Linked DNA regions of Homo sapiens: region 1 is linked to region 2. Evidence: promoter capture Hi-C in 16 types of primary human blood cells and fetal thymus (Javierre and others, 2016). All regions are on one chromosome and are shown on one strand. The core of a region is centred on a gene start or on the middle of the fragment in contact, and the rest is flanking DNA. Distances in the headings are between cores, read along the strand shown. Region 1 has its middle 21 kb from the start of C9orf152. Region 2 holds the start of LPAR1 (lysophosphatidic acid receptor 1).

Region 1 (5,635 bases), core at 1,645-4,144, 850 kb after region 2:
TAGAAGGCAAGGAAGTCACCCAGATGAGTCTTTGAAAAAGACTGTAGGCCAGAAGACCCTTTTTGTTCCTCCTACCAACAGGTAGGCCCTGCCGTATCCTTGAGAACCATCTCAGAGGACCCTCTTTTGGGATGCAGCTTCCTCATCCCAAAGCTTTGGAAAACCCTGAGCTTCCCCACTAGGGCTGACCTGTCTGCCTTTCATCATTACATAGAACCAGAAGTGTGCTGATGACTTCATGTCTTGGAGTTTCTCTAATTTCAGCATTATTCTTGAGATGGACTGGAAGTCATATGAAGACCAGAGAGAATGCAGTGATTACAACGAGGCAGGCTTCAGGGCAAGGGCCTGGAATGATTTGGGCAAGAAACTCCTGGAAAACCTCTCTCAGGTATTTAGCCAGAGGTGAGGAGGGTGGGCAAAGAGTTATTTTCAGGGTATTTTTCAGACACTTTAAAAATTTTAGGGTGGTTAATTTAAGAGTGATTTTGAATCCCAGCAAATCTCCTATGTCTCACTCAGGGGCTCTAAAGTGTGTTCTGCAGGCCAGCAGCATCGGCGTCACCTGGAAACATGTCCAAAATGAAAATTATTTGGCCCCACCCAGACCTGTTGACTCAGAAACTCAAGAGGTGAGGGCCAGCAGTCCGTTTTAGCGAGGCTTCCATAGGATTCTGATGCACACTCAACTTTGAAAACCACCATTTGTGGTAGAGTCTACCCCCTGCCTTAATGGGTGATCAGTATGGAGAAGTCACATTTGGTAGATTTTCCCTTGTAAACATTTCTTCTTTTTTGAGTTTAAAAAAAAAAAAAAAAAAAAAACAATCCGCCTTAGTGTCCCAAGCGTTTGGACAGAGACACAGAGAATTGCTTACTAGCTTTGGGGAGATTATGACATTTTTGCAAGATAAGTAACTTTTAGCTCCATTTTCCTATCCAGTCTACAGAATGTCCATTCTGTTAATCTCTGCTGATGGGGGAAAGGAGGTGGCAGGGTAAAAGTTTCACTCCCTACCTATCCCCATAGGAAGGGCACAGAACGTCTCACCCTTTGCTGCACTAGCCTCCAGGCCCAGGGCTGTGAAGCACGCCTTGTGTTTGCTTGCTGAGTTCCAGCTGGAGTGCTTGATGAGGAAGTAAACAGAGTTTATGCACAAAGAGAGAACATGTACTCAGTGTCTCCACATGCCAGACTCTGGTACAGAAGCAACAGATACAGAGGAAGTCACGAGCTTTGTTCTTAAGGAGGCTAAGTAACAAAAATTTAACCACTTGGAACAGGTGCAACTTCTGGGATATGTCTGAGTCAGTTCAGGCTGCCATAATTGAATACCGTAGACTGGGTGGCTTATAAACAGCAGAAATCTGTTTCTGAAAGTTCTAGAGGCTGGGAAGTGTAAGATCAATGCACTGGTAAACTCAGCATCTAATGGGGGCCTGCTTCCTGTTCATAGACGGCCATCTTCTGGCTGTGTCCTCACATGGTGGAAGGATCAAGAGATCTCTCTGGGGTCGCTTTTTTATTTTCTTTTTTTTCCCTGAGGTCTCTTTTATAAGAACACCAGTACCATTCATGAGGTCTCCATCCTCATGACCCAATCACCTCCCAAATACCCCATCTCCTAATATCACCAGATTGGGGTTCAGGATTTCAACATATGAATTTTGGAGTATGCAAACATTTACTCCATAACAGGAGATAATTAATTATAAACAACTTCATTTTTACCTTCCAAGGCCTTGGATGAAATTCATGGCTGGGTGTGTCACTCATAGGAATGAAAACCACTCGTTTCAGTTCAGAACTTAGTAAGTCCTGCCCAGCACAAGTTTAAAAACAAAAAAGCCCTCCAACTTCTTTCTCAGGAGCTCTGGGCTGGACGTCTGCAGTGAGGAAGGACGGGAAGCTTGGTTAACTGCTCTCCAAACTTGAGCTTCTAGCTCTCATCCCAAGTTACTTAGGGAAGTTTCATCCTCTCCAGGGTTGGGAGTGTACAATAACTGGGAGGGAGGTGGGTAAGACCTTACTTGAGTAATACTGTCATGAGATGCACGGGGAAGGAATTAAATGCTGACACTTTTTCTTTCCTCATTTTGGAAATTCACCCTCTAATGGATGGGATCCTCCCTGGACATGGGAGGAGGCATCTCTGCTTTTCCTGGTTGCTTAGAATCCATCTGCAGCTCCTCGGCATGCAGGAGTCAACCACCAGCTTGGTTTTGCTCTTGCTCCACACCTCACCCCTCCAAGGCAGTGGTTGTAATCAGGATCTAAGAAAATCTTAACACCATCTGTCTTAAATGCGAAGCCCCTCTCTGCTTCATGGGTCACACACATACTTTGTGCTCACAAACTCAGGAGAGGAGGCCAACCTCATGCAGCCATTAGGGACACCGTCAGCTATGACCTGGAGCCCTTTGGAGTTCTCAGGTGTGTCATGTTCTCCAGTTTACAAGGAACAAATAAAAGCTGCTTGAGGGGCCCTTTTGAAAACCTCTTTCCCACAGCTTGAAATGAGGCAGGCATCCCCTACTACCCCCTCTTTATGGGGATAGGACTCTCAGCTGACTGACAGTTCTCTCCAACAACCTTCTTCTAATTGCCAACCGCTGATGCGGCTGAGCTTGAAAGTTATGTATGAAGTTAAACAGAAAATTACCATATGACCTCACAATTCCATTCCTAGGTATACACCCAAAAGAATGGAAAAAAGGGACTAAAATAAGTACATGTACACCCATGTTTTCAGCACTGCTCACAATAGCCAAACAGTGGAAACAACCCAAGTGCCCACCAACAGAGTATGGAGAAACAAAATGTGGTCTATCCATATGATAGATTATTATTCAGCCATCAAAAGGAATGAAGTACTGATTCATGTTACAACACGGCTGAACCTTGAAAGCATTATACTAGGAGAAAGAAGCTCATTCACAAAAGGGCACATATTGTATGATTCTATTTATGTGCAATGTGCACAATAGGCAAATTCATAGACAGAAAGCAGCTTAGTGGTTGCCAGAAGCTGGAAGTGAGGGGAATGGGGAGTGACCATTTACAGGACACAGCACAGGATTTCCGTTTGGGATAATAAAAAGGTTTTGGAACTAGAGGTGGTGGTTGTATAACATTGTGAATGTACTGAATTATCTGCTTTACAATGGTTAATGTTATGTGAATTTCCTCTTAATAATTTATTACTTTTGTTTGTTTTTTTTTGAGACAGAGTCTTGCTCTGTTGCCCAGGCTGGAGTACAATGGCATCATCTCCATTGACTGCAACCTCAGCCTCCTCAGTTCAAGCAATTCTCCTGCCTCAGCCTCTCAAGTAGCTGGGATTACAGGTGCCCACCAATGCATCCAGCTAATTTTTGTATTTTTAGTAGAGATGTTTCACCATGTTGGACAGGCTGGTCTCAAACTCCTGACCTCAGGTGATCCACCCACCTCGGCCTCCTAAAGTGCTGGGATTACAGGTGTGAGCCACCGCCCCTGGCCAAGTTATTACTTTTTGTAAAGTTATGTATGATTGCCCTCTGGCTCCCCTCTGACCTTTCTGCCTGAATCTTTCTGTCTCATCCACATGGCTCTGTCCCAGGTGCTCATCCCATTTTTTGTCTGCATTCCTCCTTGGCGAGGTGGTCCATGGCATCACCTCTCACATCTATGCAGGTGATTCCCTGGGGAATATCCTGCCCTGCTCACTCTCTTGAAACCCGGGACCCATTTTAAATGGGCTTCTGGAATGCTATGCTTTAATGTGAACCCCTTGCACCAAATTCACTCCCACATTTTTGCTCCCCAAACTTATTCTTCTCCACTTTTGATGTAGGCTCAGATGGAACTGGATTAAGCATACCAATGATAAAGCTTCCAAGGAGGGGTCTGATGTCAGAGGATGATTCATACTTGCCTCAACCTGCCCAGTGCTCACTTTCCTCTGTCTGCCTGGAGTGAGCTTTGTGCTGTGGCACCTCAAACACAGGTAGAAAAGATAATCTGAATTCTCTTTGGGGATGTTTATGGAGTCCAGAGAGTTACGGTAGAAAACCCTCATCATACCCTTATAATGAGCCTGTACCTTTCCAGTGTACCAGACTGATGGCCAAGGACCAAGTAAATCACTTAATGGTTTGGGTGACATTATATGAGTATGCAGGTGTATCTAGAAGAATATGTGCATTAATTACACATTAATTACCTTAAGTGTTATACTTAAGGTGCTGAGTTTATACTCAGACAGCTTTATTACAGGTAAAGGGTACAATACTGCAACCGCAGGAGAGAGAAGAGTATCAAAAGGGATCTGCAGCTCTCAGGCACAGGCTTCTTTGTCTTCCCATTGCTGAGTCACACAAGACATGCTTGGTTTCTAGGTCTCAGACACCATCAGCGTTCACACAGAGAATATGAGAACTGGAAACCCAGGTCTACTTGCAGGGAGGGTCTCTTCTAGTGAGCTGGTCCCCTAGGCCATTCCAGCTACATGGCCAGCCTTAAAGGTCAACCCAGGCTCCACCAACATCAGATGCATATAATAATTATTATGATTACTAAACATTGCAGGTAGACTGGTACATCCTTTCGGGAAACTACTCAGGAACTCATGGTTAAAACACATTATTTCTCTTTAGTGAATGCATTCCATAGTTTTAGCTAAGGTCACTACCATGCAGCAGGTAGCTCTGGAGATAAGCACGCAATCAATCCAGACCAGCTGAAATGAACCCAGACTAAACCACATGGCAAACGTGTTCGACAGCCACAGCCATTTTCTTCAGGTCAGTCTGCAAGGCTTGCAAACTCAGAATTAGAGAAACTGCCACAAGTACAAACACCCGCATGACCCTGAGAGGCTCTGAAAAGCCCTCCTTAGCTGCCCTGGAGTGAGACATAGGTAACGTGGCTAAGGGACATCTGAACATAGTCACTTTATTTTTACAGTATTTCTGTGTGTCTGTGATGGAGCCTTCTTAAGCGCAAGAACACTGCTCCCATGAGATGCAGGATTTGTGGATTGTGAGCATTCAGATGATAATGCTGTCTCGTGTGCATATAGAGGATCTCCTGAGCAACCCAGAGGCCTTTCCAGGATTAATGGAAAGTTCCCCTGTGTTTCTCCCATCTGTCCTTGGAGCTATTCTCCTCATAGCTTTTGCTGTTTTAACTACGGGAAGGAATAAACTAGGTGCGGACTGAATAATGAGGGAGGATGTGCACCCTTAATCAGTTTCTAACAGCTTATGCTTTGGGCTTAGTTTGAGTTGTTCTTTTGCCAGCATCTACAGTAGCAGCAGGAACCCTGGCATGGCTGTTTCCTAATCTTCAGAAGTTGGTCAGCTGTCTGTCCCAATCAAGGCAAGGAAGCTACAGCTACTGGTTCAGGGAATGGAACCACCTGTATTTTCAGTAAATGCTTTACCGCACCTTACAGTTTCCTAAGGCTGGACCATGCCCATGACAACAAGGTTGTGGAGGTAACAGAGCAACAGGGTGGAAAGAGCTTGAGCCTCTAAATGACTGCTTAGAACAAATCTGCCTTCAGACCTCACATGCTCCCCTTGGGCTGTAACGTGAGAGAGAAACTTCTATCTTCTTTCAGCCACTGAATTATTTACTGGGTCTCTTTAT
Region 2 (5,173 bases), core at 1,213-3,712:
TAGCTCATTTGGAACATAATGAGCTAGGTTTTATGGATTAATCTAGATGCTGAACTGAATTCTGTATTGTATTTCATTTTCTCTGTCCTTTTCTACTGGATGTACATACCTACATTTAATTTTAGAGTTATCGATCTAAAGCTGGCTGCAGAAGCTGTCTCATTTAGACAGGTCCACGCTTGTCAGGAAGACAGGTCTGTCCAGGCAGACCTTTCAGTTTGTTCTATATTTCATTTCAGGCCACAGCAGACCAAATAAAGAGGAAATGAAGTGTTTTATAGCAAATAACTTACTGTTGAATACACATGTCTTGTACGGACAGGCCTCCCAATTTGATGTTAGAAGGGGCCACAGAGTAGTTAAGATAGTCAAAACAGAAGCAACTGTATTCCTTAAGAAGGTAAGAGACAAAATCAACATATTAAAAATATTCAAGTTGAGTGGTAGGTAAGAAACTCCTTTTACTTTACCTTTGATTTATGGGGAAAGGCTAAACATGGAAATAATTAATTTTAAAATGTCTTTATATTAGATATAGAAGTATTGGTGTTAAGAAATCTGATAGTAAGTACAGTGTATAGGAAGAAAGAGACGGGAAAATTAGCTAATAAGTGATTTTTTGACTTGAGTAGAGCTATGGTTAAAAATATATGGAAACCTCTTTCGAGTATATTTTTTTCTTACCAATATATACTTTTTATGATACTGAGATTTTATAGTGAACATTTGCCTATTCATCCCAATATAATATTTCTTATAGTTTGGTATCAACCCCTATGATTATTTGTGAGATAAGGGAGTGGTTTGTATTCATGGGTATACATATCTATACACATTTCTGCATGCCGTACACAAACATAAGTAGCATTGTGCATGAACATATTAGCACTGTGCATGTACTAAAATTTCAATTTTTTCACATAGTAGGTTATAAAATAAATCATATATTCGTAGGAAAGGTATAGAAAGCAAAGTTATTTAAAGTGGATTTTTAAAAAAGATTTGAATGATTTTTTTTAAAAAAAAGATTAGAACCATTGTTTTTAAAAGGAAACAGCTTTAGATAGTAAATTATTTACAGCCAGGACTCAGCCCTGAGCATCCTGTGAAAACCACACGAGCTTGGTCAAGGTTCTAAGCAGTCACCGGTGGGAGATGGTCATGGTCCCGTCACAGCATAACTCACTTGAGGCTTGAAAAGTTTCCGTCCAGCTACGGTTTGCAGTGACCTTTCTCTTCTGCAAAGCCCACGGTTACCTGGTGGCCACCACCAACATAGCCCCGCCTCGCTGTCCTGCGTTTCTCTCAATCAGATCAGTCCTGCCGAGTCCCCATGCCTTACTGCTGGTGTGCTGTGTCCTCTGTGCCATTTCAAGGCGAGGGCTCATGAAACTTTTACTCACACGCTGCTATTTTTGATATGCGGTGGCCTTAGCTGTGGAGCGAGAGGCCGATAATTGTGATCACTCCGGAAATCCTGGGAAGCCAGAAGTGGGAGATGGGTGTTGTGAGGTGGCGTGGCTAGGGAGACCCCATCGAGTGGGTGTGTTATAAGACCTGGGCGAATCCCTGTGGCTGCCACTCTCCTGAGAATGTTCCCTAGGCCTTAGTCCCGCGCCGCTCCCACCCACACCTCCAGGTGTGCAGTCCCCGCCCTTAATTACTCTCACTAAAATTGATAGTTTACACTTGCAAAGCTACACTGGGAAAGCGGAAGAGAAATTTATAATCGTGGATATGGAGAACTAGGGGAGCAGACACACTTGCTTTCGTTTACAGATCCAGTGAAGTGAAAAATCAGAACTAGAAACGTATGCACCTTCCTAGCAGCAAAGCCGCTTCTGCGTTCTTCGCAGCCTCCAGTGCAGGGCGGCGCTGGGAGAAACTTTGCGCCTTCTGGAAAGTTTAGAAAGTGAGCCACGAAAGAGAGGCCACATTTCCGGGGTTTTGCGGGCCCCGCGATGTTTTCCAGAGCTTTTCGAGTGGGAAGAGGAGAGCGACAACGTGAAAATGCCCCGTGCCGGGGCGTCCACCGGAGTCCTGCCAGCTGTCCGGCGCTGGGGTAAGCGCAGGAGGGGCGGGGGTGGGACCCGAGCTGGCGGCCACGGGTCTCCCGCTGCGGGTGTGTCGACTCGGGGGCGGGGCGGGGGAGGCTGCTGAGATAATGAATGGGAGGCTAAGGCCACCCCCCAGCCCCGGCCCTGCCACCACCGTGGGCTGTCGAGCCAATGAATGGAGGAGGGGGCGCAGAGGTCAGGGGCGCTGGGGGCGCCACACCAGGTAAGGGGTCCAGCTTGGGAGCGGGGAGGGCGGACTCTGGGGGTTCGGGTGTTGCTGACTTGTGCTACGTGGAACAAGCAGAAAAGAAGGAAGGCGGAGGAAGAGAGGAGGCTGGCGTCGGCGCTGCTCCTCTGGCCCTCCCTCTGCGCCCCCTCCTCCTGCCAGCGCGCCAAAGCCGGGCAGTAGGGGCCGACTGGCGGCTGACGCTCCCTGAGTGGCGACTCCGTCTCCAGCCCCGCTGCGGAGCGCGGGCCGGATCTGGGGCGGCCAGGGCCCGGAGCCGCGGAGCCCTCCCCGCCGCCCGGCCGAGCACGGGACCCCGGCGGGGTGGGCGCAGGGGGCGGCCCCGCTCTGGGCGACTGCCGAGGGGCGGGCGGAGGGCCGGGCTCGGCTGGCGGTGGGGCGGGGGCCGCCGGGACTGGGCGCGCGGCCTGAAGCCAGCCCGGGGGCGGCAGGAGAGGGACGCGCGGCGGCAGCGAGCGCAGGTAAGGGGGCCGGCGCGGCGTGTGGGGACGGCGCCCCCTGGGCGCGAAGCCAGAGGCCGCGGCGACTGCTCGGCCCGCCACACGGCGCGCTGGGCTCACACTGTCCCGCCGCGGACGGGCTTTGTGGTTGGGGGCGCGCGTGCGAGTGCCAGTGAGAGTGTGGGTGCGCGCTGTGGGCCGCGGCGCGGGTGGGTGGCCGTGCGTTCTTGCGAGCCGGCCTGCAGGAGGCGAGGCTCCCCTGGCCTCCCGCACCCAGCGGCGGACCGAGCCCCTGGAGGGAAGTTGCCGCAGCCGCCCGGGCCGCCGGCCCTCCTGTCCCGCGCCAGGTCAGTGCGCCCCGGGGCCCGCCCAGTGACACGTAGGTGGCCTCCGGTTACCTGGGTCGGGGTGGGTGCGCGGGAGGGCTTGCGAGGGGCCCTCGAAATTCTCCCAAAACCTCGTCCCGCTGGACTTGCACCTCCGAGGGGTCCCTGCGCCCCTGGGGCTCCGCACCTCTCGCTTCCCACTGACGACTCGGTTGTCCCCCACCACCGGGCTGAGGACTTTTAACTAAGTTTCTGTCCAGCCGCCTAACAAACGTGCTTAACAAGTAACAGGAGGTTGTAAGGCAAGGGAGGGACCTGGCTTTGAAAGTTGATGGTTTTGAAATCGACGGCTCCTTTGACTTGCGTAGGACTCCTTTGTGGTGAATGGATTTAAAGTTTATTCTTGTTTTTCTTTGCTGCCATTTGGTCTTTGCAATGTTAAGAGTGAAGGCATTCAGGACTTGCTGCTGCCTGCTGTCTGGGGCCTGAGGTTGTGGCTCTCCGCTTCTGCTCTCCTCTCTTCATTTTTGTTGAAATCCGTGGATTTTTTCATAAATGTGGGTGCTGGCTTGTTTCACTATGGACGCGTCGTTTCCTATGGGGTTAGATAGATATTGGTAAACATAAATATTGAAAATGTGATGATCACATATTGATGATCACAGCGAAATCCTCTATTCCTTCAGGCTCTAACAGTTTGTTTTTCACGTATTTGCATAAGTGTGTTTGCTCAGCTAAGCATAATTGGTAAGCCAGAGGTCTGTGATTCAGAGTCTGCAGTTCTGGTTAAGGGGAGACTGTACACTTGGAAAATGCGAAGTTTTTTAAGAAGTTATTCCCTTGCCGGATAGAAGAGTGGGTCCCAAGGAAAAAGGGTGTATTTTAGAGGTATGGTTATTTGAACCAAACTAAACATCATTAAAATACACAGGGAGGTAGAATGTCACCTAGTTCTTTCTGCCCTTGATTTCCATATCCCAGTAGGAGCGAGTATAATTGCCCCAAATGCAAAATTATGAATAATAATCAGCATTGTAAGTATATTAAGGTTGCATTTTTTTCTTGATACTTGTCTGATTTGAGGATAAAAACACCAAGTGGCAAGAGAAGGAGGTAGCTTGAGGCAGGAAGGCACGGGCGAGGAGCGAGGAGGGAAGGCTGGGTTGTCATCATCCGAGCCCGCAAGGTACACCACGTCCCCTAGCGGCGCGACCTCAGCCAGTCGGGTCAGCTCAGATCCTGGTCTCCGTCTCCCCATCCGGAAAATGGAAGGGGTTGGTGATCGTTGCTGTTCCTTCCAGCTTCCCAAATAGCGAGAAACCGGTGGGAGGTTATCTTATTGTGTTAGAGCAGTAGGAAAAGGTAGGAGGGGGAAGTGAGAGGTCCAGAGGGCCAGGAAGATGGAAGAAAACAAGCAACAGAGGATGCTTGGAGGAGAAAAATTCTTGAGCTGGGAGCTCATTTCCTCTTTTTTTTTTTTTTTTCCTTTCCTCAAGGGACTCAATAATACTTCCCCCACCTCAGATCAATCTCTTGTTACCTTTATTATTTAAAGCTTGTGAGTTTGCTTAGCTAATGCACTAGGGTGAGGTCAAGGTGATCCTTGCAGTCTGACTTCTACTAGGCATCACTTGACTCATTTGCATCATTGTCTCTCAAGGGAACAGCTCCTGCCCAGGTCTGTGGGCACTCAGCATGGATTTCAGTCTCCCTGTGAGTGATGGGAAAGAACTAACAGAGGTAAGAATGTAAGTGGCAGCCCTTTCGAAACTTCTATTTTTGTTCAAACCTAATATTTTCCAAAAAGTGATTTGATTTTTTTGTTGTTTCAAATTATACCGTAGGCTGCAAGGTTTTACTGAATCTATTCCATTAGTGACCTACTGGAACGTTCAAAGAATAAAAATCTCACTTGCTCAGTGTTTTTGATACACAGTGACATTCAGTCTGAAGTAAGTGATATTTAGGGCCAAGAATCATTTCAAATGCTTAGTATGGAAAGTTGCAATCTGGGCAGAATACACTGTATCATTTTCACTGGGAAGCTCCAAGTATTCAGCAGATAACAGAACTTTCAGAATTTAGTTTGAGGTCAAGATTTTA

Evidence for each region. The method cuts DNA at HindIII sites, captures the fragments that hold promoters and counts their contacts. A CHiCAGO score of 5 or more calls a contact.
Region 1: a fragment that was not itself captured here is called in contact with the fragment with the promoter of LPAR1 in region 2 in 1 of 17 cell types (neutrophils); the score reaches 5.5 in neutrophils.

Annotation. Positions count from the first base shown.
Region 1 is chr9:110,184,724-110,190,358 of GRCh38, reverse strand. No RefSeq gene overlaps it. Among named protein-coding and RNA genes, the nearest start is that of C9orf152, 21 kb to the left of the region's middle. The HindIII fragment of the contact is 1,964 bases long and covers 1,913-3,876 here.
Region 2 is chr9:111,035,759-111,040,931 of GRCh38, reverse strand. It overlaps LPAR1 (lysophosphatidic acid receptor 1), which reads left to right and starts at 2,462. Exons shown (of 6, transcript NM_001351411.2): 1 at 2,462-2,765; 2 at 4,731-4,810. It overlaps LOC124902248 (a long non-coding RNA gene), which reads right to left and starts at 4,004. Exons shown (of 2, transcript XR_007061732.1): 1 at 3,143-4,004; 2 at 1-1,477. RefSeq lists a silencer at 2,693-3,032. The HindIII fragment of the contact is 5,735 bases long and covers 1-4,627 here.